Linked DNA regions of Homo sapiens: region 1 is linked to region 2. Evidence: promoter capture Hi-C in human tissues and cell types (Jung and others, 2019). All regions are on one chromosome and are shown on one strand. Each heading gives the region's core, a stretch centred on a gene start or on the middle of the fragment in contact. The rest is flanking DNA. Distances are from core to core; before and after follow the strand shown.

Evidence for each region. Contacts are between HindIII fragments. The study calls those that stand out against the background at their distance.
Region 1: a contact is called between a fragment that was not itself captured here and the fragment with the promoter of DGKI in region 2, in 1 of the 25 tissues and cell types used here (stomach).

Annotation. Positions count from the first base shown.
Region 1 is chr7:137,799,533-137,804,941 of GRCh38, forward strand. All of the region lies in intron 1 of DGKI (diacylglycerol kinase iota), which reads right to left. Among named protein-coding and RNA genes, the nearest start is that of DGKI, 45 kb to the right of the region's middle. The HindIII fragment of the contact is 4,028 bases long and covers 669-4,696 here.
Region 2 is chr7:137,842,389-137,848,557 of GRCh38, forward strand. DGKI (diacylglycerol kinase iota) reads right to left here and starts at 4,586. Exons shown (of 33, transcript NM_001321708.2): 1 at 4,074-4,586. The coding sequence starts at 4,474. RefSeq lists an enhancer at 3,425-3,926 and silencers at 4,561-4,610, 5,095-5,389. The HindIII fragment of the contact is 10,065 bases long and covers 1-6,169 here.

The DNA of each region.
Region 1 (5,409 bases), core at 1,433-3,932, 45 kb before region 2:
ACCAGTCCAACTCCTCATAAGAACATACTGAGAACAGTTATTCTGCCTAGAATTTACTCTTTTAAAAGTGATTATTTTGATATTATGGTTCATCCATTTTGGGCTGGATTGGTTAAGAAGTCAATCACATGCTTTCCTAAGGAAAACTGATCAAAATCTGCTTCTGATGTAAGCCAGCCAGCCTCATCTACCAATCAAAGGAATGCTTGAATGAAAGGATGATTAAATGAGAGATTAATTACAACATCTCCCATACAACTTAGATATTGTTTGCTGTCCCATTAGGTGCGTCCATTTTGAATCTTTAGCCAGCTTTTTAATTCAATGAGATTATGAACCATGTATTTGAAGCTTTTGAAATCTTCTTCTATAATGATTAGTTCTATGCTAACTTTAAGTATTTAATGGCATTAGAAATCACCTGATTCAGTTTTTCAGTACGGTTCTCTCTAGACAACTGTTAGAAATAAAACAGGAAGCAAATACCAGGGGTGGCAGGGATAGGAGGCATGGTTGCTTTAGGACAACCAGGACCTTTTAAGGAGAATGAGAAATCTCAGGTACCCAAGAGATTTGGGGATTCCAATTTCCCCCCTATAGAATATGGCAAGGTTGGAGTTGAGATTGTTGCTCAACAGAATTGGCAAATACCTACTACATCCTTAGAACAAACTGGAGTGATATACCAGCCAAATGGGTTCTCACTGGTTACAGGCAAGGAGTGTAATATGGTTTGGATGTTTGTCCCCACCCAAATATCCTGTTGAAATGTAATCCCCAGTGTTGGAGGTGGGGCCTGGTGGGAGGCGTTTGGGTCATGGGGGCAGATCCCTCATGGCTTGGTGCTGTCCTCAGGATAGTGAGTGAGTTCTCAAGAGATCTGGTTGTTTAAAACTGTGTGCTACCTCCCCCCAACTCTCAGTTTTGCTCCTTCTCCTGCCATGTGAGACACCTGCTCCCTCTTCGATTTCCGCCATGATTGGAAGCTTCCTCAGGCCTCACCAGAAGCAGATGCCAGGGCTATGCTTTCTGTACAGGCTACAGAACCATGAGCCCATTAAACATCTTTTTTTACAAATTACCTAGTCTCAGGTTTTCTTTACAGCAATGCAAGAACTGACTAACACAGAGTGAAATGTTTTAATGTTCATGTTTAACAGGTATAAAACTAGACCTAGAAAAGACTGGCAAAACAGAGATTCAGCTGAGTCAAATCTTGTTGATATTGAAGTCTATTCCTAGGTTGTGCACTTTGATATTTCAAGTATGACCTTAACATTTTCTGCCCCCACCCAATGCTCCATCCAATGCTCATGATGCCCAATTATGCATCTCCCAGTTGATCCTCAATAACTATATACTCAGTAAAGTTTGGTAGCTAAATAATCCACCATTCTGTAGAATAAGAATTTTGTAGAATTTGAAGCAAAGAATTTCAGCCTCACCTTAGACAATATTCATCCCAAAATGAATGTTGTTCAACAGTGATCTAAGTGCTGATGCCCTTTCTGTAGAACAAGTGTCAGCACTCTGCAATTTTTCATTCTGCAAAGTGTTTTGTTCTATACTGTCTAATACAATCTTGTACTTCTCTTCCTATCACTCTTATGCACTGATTTGTCATTTTCACTTCAGGAGCCTGGGAAACTTTTGATGAAGCATGACTCATGGCTCAGGAAGAGAAAAGAAGGAAGTACCAGCTGATGCTAAGAGGCTGGAAGGTCAAATATTATACTTTCTTGCTCCCTGGAGTTGGAAATGGGATCGGCTTTCCTGAATCTCATTAGCTACTAGAAAGAGAAAAAAAAGATCAAGGTTTCAAAAGGAAGGAGCAAGGGGAAATGGATTTCATAAAACAACTGTGTCCTTTACATCATTACATAGCTATAAAGTATAGTGCAAAAATAAACAACAAAAGCATTAGTTCATTAGATGTAGGACCAGAAAGCTTGGGACCCTCCAGTTTCTAACCATGTGATTTTGAAAAATTAAACATCAGGTTTCAGTCCTCAGTCTCACTCTCCACAGAATAAATAATAATTCGGAGTGACCTGATAGTAAGTGGCATTATCACTCTCTCTGCCATCTGCTGACAGTCCTATGAATCAGGATGGAGATCAGTCTCTTTTATGATGTATAAGATTCCATATCCTGAATGGGAAACAAGGGAGTGTGTTTATATGCACAGGCTTGCACCCACTGGGGGTGAGAGCTGGGGAGAGAGGATTAGTAAATGTTCTGGAAGAAATCAATATGGGTTTGTGGCTGGGAAAAGCATCCTCCAAAAGAATTGCAGCCCTCAGCTCTCTCTCCTTGGCAAAAGCTTCAACTTTAGCATGTGCCCCCCTGCCCCATCACTCAGTGGAAAACTTTATGCAAAAAAATGCATTTTTGGAAGACACGAGCACACACGTGTTCATAGCAGCACAATTGGCAATTGCAAAAATATAAAATGGGCCTAAATGCCCATCAACCAATGAGTGGATAAAGAAAATGTGGTATAATTACAGCATGGAATACTACTCAGCCACAAAAAGGAATGAAACAATGGCATTTGCAGCAACCCGGATGGAGCTGGAGGCCATTATTCTATGTGAAGTAACTCAGGATTGGAAAACCAAATACTGTATGTTCTCTAAGTGGAAGCTAAGCTATGAGGAGGCAAAGACATAAGGATAATATATGAACTTTGGGGACTCAGAGGGAAGGGTGGGAGGTGGATGAGGGATAAAAGACTACACATTGTGTACAGTGTACACTGCTTGGGTGACAGGTGCACCAAAATCTCAGAAATCGCTACTCAAGAATGTATCCATGTAACCTAAAACCACCTGTTCCCCAAAAACTATTAAAATGATTTTTAATATCTTTCTGGGAATTATTCTTTTCCAGCTGCAAATTTACTACATCATGTCCACTTATTGCTGACTTTCTTTGTTACAGCTGTTTTGCACCTCAAATCATAATAATCCTCTATTTGTGACATTATAATTATCACTAAGTAACCAATTGTAATGTCATAAATAGGGTTATGGCTTTATGAGGACATGAGACTTGCCCATTAATTTGCAGAAGGTCCTGACTAATAAAGGGATATTCTCCATCATGAGAAAAGTGAAAGATGGTTTGTGAAAAACTGAGATTTTCCAGAGTAAATTTCTTATTAGTGCCAAATTATAGAAGTGGCTTCCTCTCCTACCGGCCTCTCTCCTCGAACTTCTTCCCTTGCTGGGAAGCTGTTCATCTCTGAGTCAGAGAAAATCTAACACCTGGCTGTTCCAACTGCACATCTTACTCTGGCCTTTATTTAATTGAATTTTATTTAACTAATACCTACTGATGTTCATTAATACAATTCATGAAGCACTATGCCAAATGCTACAAAGACAAAAAAATTAGATGAGAAAAACTCTCAAGAAAATTATAGTTTAGGAGGTAAAATAAGACAAGCACTAAAAATAATGAATACAAAGCAAAGCAAAATAAGAATCACTATGCAAATATTAACACTACAAAAGGGAATCCAGAGGAAAGGCCAGGGCAGGTCGCTTGCATTAAGGAAAGATCCATAAATGCATCCTGGAGAAGCAAGTGAGCGATTAAAGGTTTCTACATTTGGAGAGAAGGGATGGAGGGGTGCAAGCTGAGAGAAAACGCAGGTGAGACAAAACAAGGAAATTCAGGACACAGTGAGGAGACCAGTTTTGCTGGGTTGTAGAGAAGATGGAGGTAAGTTTGAAAAAGGGGGCTGTGATCACTCTTCAGAGGCCTTACATTCCAGTATACAGTTTAGACAAATTACAGGTCAGTAACAAAGAGCCAAAAAATGTTTTCAAACAAGAAAGTAATGTGACTGGAACTGTATTTTTGATTCTGATATAGGAAACATGTTAAAAAGATCCTCATATGAATCCTATCCACTGATTTCACATTTTCTAAGTTATGTATATTATTTAGATCACCTGTTTAGCTGTATGATATTTTCTTTCTTTTTGATGCTATTTTTCTTTATGATGTCTACTAAGACAATGCACCTTTCACATTTATATACAGGCATCTTGACTGGACACGGCCTTAACATTTCATGTCATTTTGAAGTCTCTGGAAAACTTTTCCTGAGCACAATGTTTTCCTCCACTTACTTAAGAATTTCTTACAAAAGCGCAGTTTCACTTCCAGGAGCTTCAATTAAAATACAACCATTTCTGCAAATGAAACATATTAAGTAAGTGTGTATCAAATATCCTGGAGAATTTAACAAGCTTTAAACGGACATTGGAACACAGCAAGGATTTGAAGGCTAAATGCATAACCTATTTGGATTTGGCCCAGGTCCCATCCCTAACACCCGCTCACTATATCATCTTAGATTCGTGAGGTAAATAGTCCGGGCATGCGTTTTTCATTTTCTGAAAATATAAGCTAACAAGCATGCCCACTTTGCACAATTATCTTCTCTGAGGCTAGACTGAGGGAGCTCCTTTGTGAGAGTAAGTGACAACCAGCAAACACTGAGCACATGCTTTGGGAAGCACTCAACAGTAAGCGCTTAGACCATTCTCTCTTCACATCTCCAGTACCCAGCAAATGCCTGGCATAGAGCAGGAGCTTGATGCCTGAGTTTGATATTGTTAAATAGGAAGCAGTGTGGCATTGACTTTGGACTTCCATCTCTTCCCCCTCTCTACTGGATATGTGAGCTTGTGCAGTTATTTAGCCTCTCTGAGCATCAGTTTTCTCTTCAGGAAAATGAAGAAAATTACCACTTTACAATTATTGAAAAGAGATCCTACAAGAAAGCACTCAGAACATTCTAGGCATATAAATATAGGCTAGTTTTCTCTGCTTCAATAAGATTTAATTATTGGCTCGATGCCCTGTTCATTCGTCAGAAGAGAAGTCCTTCACTCATTCCGTCCTTTTAATAAGTCTCTTTGACCCCTGTGCCCCCATTTAACATAAATACAACTAGACCAGCTATTAAAAATTATCTGTAAGAACAAAGGCAAGGCAGTTTTGAAGTCTTTGAAGAAAAATAAAAAGATGTAAACGTTTTTGGTGTTTGTGTGCTCAGTGTTTAACATTGATTCTAGCTGACAGAGGGTACAGAGGCACTCCTCTCGATAACAAGCTTGGATGGGCACAGGAAAGGAAAGGAAATGGATATATTTCTTTTTCTGTAAAGAAGTCTGCATTAAAACCATGATTCACGGCAGAGCTTTGCCTGTCTACAAAAAGAAATGGAAAATGATGTTTATCCTTTGGGAGTAGAATAAAATTTCTATCTATTTAGTCTAATCTTACTTTGTAGGCTTACGGAGTTGAATGGATCTTCTCTCTAAATCCTCATCCAGGTCTCCTTTTTTATGTTCAACTCAAATGACTCATTCATTTTCTGAGTCTGTGTTT
Region 2 (6,169 bases), core at 3,336-5,835:
TTGCCCAAACTAAAGCGTTTAATACTCCTTGCTCCTATTTCTATCTCATACCAAAAACTTCCTTTAAGAAAGGTTTAGTATTACCAGCATGGTTTATGAGCAGAGAAACTAAATCATAGGCATCAACATCTCATAAGTAATGGTCTGCCCAGACATACTGACAAGCAAAATTGTACTTCATCACTCATTCTGTGCTGCCCAAAGAGGTACCGATGGGCCAGCTCTTCATTGGACCTAGGTTCGCCTACACAACCCTGTGTAAATTTTTTTTTAAGGCATATAAACCTCTAACGAGGATATCTTCATAGCAGGTGCATGTAGGTGGTTTTGTTCTCAGAAGCAAAACTGATATATTTGCAATCATGAATTTATATTCATTTATATTTCTGAGATAGTAGAAGAGTTCCCTAAAATTATATAGACAAAGGGCCACAAGCCAAAAAAAGGTATGCAATAATATATAATAATAATAATATGTAATGACCTGCCGTGTATTACAGATGAGGGGGAAGATAACTCACACTGCACACACGCATGCATACACATATGCACACATGGACAGAGAGCTCAAGCCTAAAATAAATGTTTAGGGAAGCAGCGTGATGCGGTCTAAAGAGACAGTCCTTTGGAGTCATCTGTGTTTTAAATTCTGCCTCCTGCCCAAGCTCTATGCCTCAAGTTCATTTTCAATAAAATGGAAATAGTCATAGTCACATCACAGGACTGTCACAAAGATTAATTAAGACAGAATATACAATAAGGCTTAGCCCAGTGCCTGTTGCATAGAAGACAATAAACATCAGCTACCTTCTCCTTCCCCTCCCTTATGTGTTTCTGAAGTCTTTTTTTTTTTATTGTACTGACTTATATGGGAATTCTTACAGCAGTTTAAAAAAAAAAACAGTTCCTACACAGTATATAGTCATTTACACATATGTATCTGTTGCAGCACCATAATTTGCAAAGAAAAACGAAGTAGTAATTTTAAAAGAAAAGTACCAGCTCACTCGCACTGCCTTTTCAAACCTTCAGCTTTACAGTCGACAGAGACTATTTGCTCTAGGGGTGCAGATTCTGAAATAAAGGAAAAAATTCTCATGGGAAAAATGGTTCTCAAAAAAAGCCAACACAGAATAGATAATGAGGGGAAATCTAGGAGTACAGAAAGCAGTTTATTTTACTTAACAAAGTAAAAGTCAAGCAAAATGAATAATCTGCCTCCAGAAATGGTTATTTAAAGGCTTTTTGTAAAGGGCTCTGGTTCCTAAAAAGACAGGAGTCACTGCATATGCCCACCCACTCCTCATTTATTTTTAAACCCTAGCTTATATGTTCCTTAGCAACAGAAGGAGCAGATGAGACCCCCCTACACACACACACACACACACACACACACACACACACACACCCTCTCTCCCAAAGCCCCCTTCTTTTTGCCTGTCAAGTTTCATTCCAAAAATACACATGTTCTTCAAAAGATATTTTTTGCCTACCTGCAAATCTCCACTCCTCCACCTCAAATGATCCCCCTCACGCAAGCAGCCATGCTCCATACCCTAACTCAGTCCTTTCACTCAGACTCCATTCTGTGAGGTCTTCCTGCCTCCTCTCCATAAGCTCCCACCAGACACTGTCCTCAGGTGCCCCCAGAAGGGAGGTGGTGTGGTCCCCACCAAGGAGCCGACCCTCAGCTCCTGACAAACCTGCTCTTTTTTTACACACCCTTCATCCATCCCACAGTAAAACAGCCAGCCCTGCTGCAGGAGTCCAGCACCAATGGCCGCCATGACGAGTGGGCAGGCCATTCACCATTACTCCAAAACAAATAAGTAACAGTGATCAAAATGGAGACAATTTCCTGTTACCCAGGCACAAACATGCTCCAGATGGAAGCACCTCCTTTTCACCATCTTTCCTCTGACTTTGAGACTGACTGGCCTGGTTTGGATGGGGAGGGTTTATGAGTTCAAAGATCAATTGTTTAGTCTTGGGGGCAAAATAGGGTGGCAATCCCCATATATTAGTCTGCATAAACATCGCCTGAGGAGCGTGTTAAAAATTCTCACCCACAGACAGTTTGATTCTGCAAGTCTAGGGTGGTGAGCACTTTTAACCAGACACCTGAGGTGACACTGATGCAGGAATTGGAGACTGTAAAGCTTTATTTAAAAGGAAATGATGTTCACGAAGTAGAATCCACCTCTATGTAAGGATTGTAAAGCAGACGCAATGTTATTATTCTTCTATAGAAACATGCTGCGTCTGTGTCCATGTCTATGCTTGTGTGTGTACACACTTACACGTGCATGTGTGAGCATGCAACTCAGAAAGCCAAAACCCCACACAACATACATTTTAAAAAAGGAGGCTCAGAGAATGACCCCTGACAAGAGGCAAGCTGAAATGATTTCCCTTGCAAACTCTGGCTTTGTCTTCCTACCCAGTGAGGACTCTGATGAATACCAATAAGCCAGGAGCAGCCTACACTGTGCTTCATGTAATCACCACCCCCTTCCAACTCACAGCTCCTAAATTAGGCTGAATGTAGTCCCTGTTCCCCCAGGGGCCAGACGGGCCATCATAACTAGGAAGTAGAACTGCCAGTGTCCTAGCATACCTCCCTAGAGCTACCCCCTCCCCACCATCTGTCTATTTTTAGAAACCAAAGTATAAAAAGAAAGATCCATTTGGACCTGATCTGTGTGAGTAACTAAGAGAACAACTCAGGTGGGGAACTCCCTCAGCGCACAGCGAACAAAATGCATGGGAGGAACGCAGAAGCAACAACCTCACCAGGAAGGCGTTTTAGGAGTCATCAGAAGTCAACACTTAGACACAGAGCACATGCCCTAGTGACTGTGGCCTCCAGGCCAGGCGATGTCTATGGGGATCCCAATTATTCACACACCTGCCCCCATAAATAAAACACACCCTCCCAAACCCACACACCTCTGTCATCTGCGTTTGCTTACATAACAGCACATGGTGTGACAGGCTTAATACTTTATATGGTTTTTGGGAAGGGAACACTAACTCAGAAAGAGTAGGGTTACAAGAATGTTTTCACTGACCCCTTTTCCAGAAACCCTCTGAGCTCCAGCAAGTGTACATCTTTGTAAACCTATGCTTGCATATCACCTCGACCTTTAACATCGATAAGCAGTAGGGTTAGTGTCAACAACTCTCCAAACCTGTCAATGTCTTTATTCTTGCCTGCGGAAGGGAGGGGTGAGAGAGACCTTAATAAATCCTAATTCCTCGTTGTTGGATTCTAATACAATGTGGGGTTATCTTTTATCCTAATTTAAAGGCCATTGATCCCACACTGTCCTTGTCTTACACATACACTCATCCTTAGGTGCAAATATGGTCCCCACTCTCACCTTCACCCCTAGCTTGCCAGCGGGCTCCCCACACCCTCCTCCAGCCAGGAGAGAGGCAAGGAGCACGCAGGCATGGAGCCCCCATAACCAGTGGCGCATCTACAGACATAAACCCACTCTTCCTTCATGGGGGATTTCGAGGCAGGTCCAACTTCCATAAGGATTTCTCTTCAGTGTAGTGCTATTCTTTTCTGCCTGTCGGAGTGATCTCAGCTGTCAAGTTAGTGCCAAAGGTTCATCCAGCGAAATCTGGAAGGTGGGGGAAGGGTGGTTGAAGATGACACCTGCTTAGGGGCAACTTTGACGACTTCTCTTAAGAAAACTAAGCATCACTGAGTCTGCAACCCTTTCTCTCTCTCTCTTTCTCTCTCTCTCTCTCTCTCTCTCTCTCACACACACACACACACACACACACACACACACACACACACAGACAAAATTTCTGTTGCTCTGACCTTAGGGACCCAGTGCTTCTCTCCTGCCACAGGGGAAAGCAGGCGTTGCTGCCCTCCAGCCTGGAATGATAGGATGGGGAGAAGACAGACATCCCCGGGAGGAGAGGGGGAAAGGGGGAAGGAGAGGCGTGGAAACAGAGAGGTGCCCAACTCCGCGGAAGCGCCCCTTGCTGGGTAGAAGAGTGGGTCTCCCGCCGCGGCGCACCTGTCTCGGCTGCCGGCTCCCCGCACCTACCTGTACGAGACCTGCTTCCGGAAAGTTAAGTTCCTCAGCTTCTCCTCCAGCGCTTCGTCCTTCTCCTTCTGGCCGGCGGCCGCGGGCTCGTCCAGGGCAGCGGCCCCCGCCGCCGCGGCTGACCCTGCGCCCCGCGGGTCCGCGCCGCCCTCGGCGCCCAGGCAGCAGCTCCCGGCGCCGCTTCCGCTGCTGCTGCTGCCGCCCGTCGCCCCTTTCTCCTCTCCCGCCGAGGAGCTGGGGTTCATGGCGCCCGCTCCGGCGGCCGCGGAGGGAGCGCAGGCGGCGCCGCTGCAGGGGCCGGGCGGGCTGGCGGCGGCGGCGGCGGCGGCTGCAGGAGCGCGGGCAGGTCCGCGCGCCGCTGGCAGGGGCAGCAAATGGCAGCCCCTTCCCGCAGCATCCATCCGCGGCTGCACCGCACCGGGGCATTGTGGGAAACTCCGCTCACTCCCCCGCCCCGGCCAATCAGAGGCCGCCGCTCCCCGCCTCCCGCGCCCTCCCGCGCCGGCCCGCACCCTCCAGCCCCGCCGGCCTCTTCCTAAATCCCGAGCGAAAGCCCAAGCTGAACATGAACTCTGCCCGGAGGCGACGGGCTGCGGCGGAGGGGGAGAGAGAGGAGGACAGGCTGCGACCCCGGGCTGGGGACGCCAGGGCAGGGACAGCGAGCATCAGGAAGGAGAGCGTCCGGGGAACTCGAGTGGCCGCGCCCTGGGTCCTGCACCGTGAGGCTGGGGGGACCAGGACCGGCGGGCGCCCACCTTGGTCCTGAGCCCAGCTGCCGACGCTGGGCCAGCACCCTCTCCACCGCCGCCCTCCAGTGAGCAGAGCTGGGCTCAGGCAGCAGCCCCTGGGCGCGGGAAGGTAGCGGGAGCTGCATTTAGGGGAGGGGGGAGGTAGCAGGAGCTCCGCCAGTGGGAACCTTGGAGTGAATTCGTCGGCGGGTGCCAAGTCGAAGCGCCGACCTCCTGTCTCTGGACTGGGGCCCGGACCCCTGCGTCCCCAAACTGCGTCCCCGCCTTGCTCGTCGCCCGGTGCCTTCCTTAGGCGCAGCAGACCCTCGGTAAACAGCGGTTAATTCGATGGAATCGGATCACAGGGCCCTCGGTGAAGCAGAAAGGCGGAGGAAATCCAGGAGGCAGAAGTGAGGACCCTGGCGCCTGGCGCCGCTGCGTTGTTCGTATAAGAAGAGGCATCCCGGAAGGGGCTTCAAACCACTTAGGACCGACTGCTGAAACGAATCCAAGCTTGTGGTGTCTGCAGAATTTAACTGTCCGCCTCAACCCCAGTTTTTGTTTCTAAGATTATCGAAAACTGTGCGGTTTGAGTGATGTGCTACAAAGTGTTTAAAACAGATTGTTTCCCAAATTAGGGGTTTCCACACAAGAAATCGCTGCTGTCGGCAAACACAGGAACTATCTATGGTTAAGACAAGGTGGTGTTCGTAACCAAACTATAAACCTACATATACGAGGTGGTAAGAGAACCAGACCAATGAACAGTTTCAGGCTGGCGTGGTGTGCCCGTGAACAAAGAATTGTAATACTGGCAAAAATCTAAATTGCTTTCTTTCCCTTTATTTTCTCATCACTAAAATTAGGAAAATGAACAGATATGTCAAATCTCTTCTAACACCCATGTTCTGTAACTCTCCTCGTATGTACCTTATAATAAGACAAAGGTAAAGACATTTCCATGTGCAGCGAGGAAAAGTAATAATAAAAATTAAAACAACTAGCAAGTATGAAGCCCTCTTTTTATACGGTATGTGCTGTATAAGCACTTCCCTCATCCACCTCTATGTTTTCACAGCACCTCTCAAGGGCTTGGACACGTGCAAATGCAAACTGGCAAAGCCAGGAGTCAAGCCAGGCTGCTCAGTGGCCTTTGTGCTTCACCCCAGTTTAATGCACCCGTCTTCAGAAGGGACATCGTGTATTAGGTGCTTCAACACAAGATCCACGAATATCTCGTACATCCCTAAAATCAAGCAAATGTCATCTGAACCCAATTACTGGGACAGCCCCCTCATTACTCCCACTTACTTTTAGCCGTATCTTCCCCAATCCAATCTCAAGTGTGAGCCCCAAAATACTTCTGAT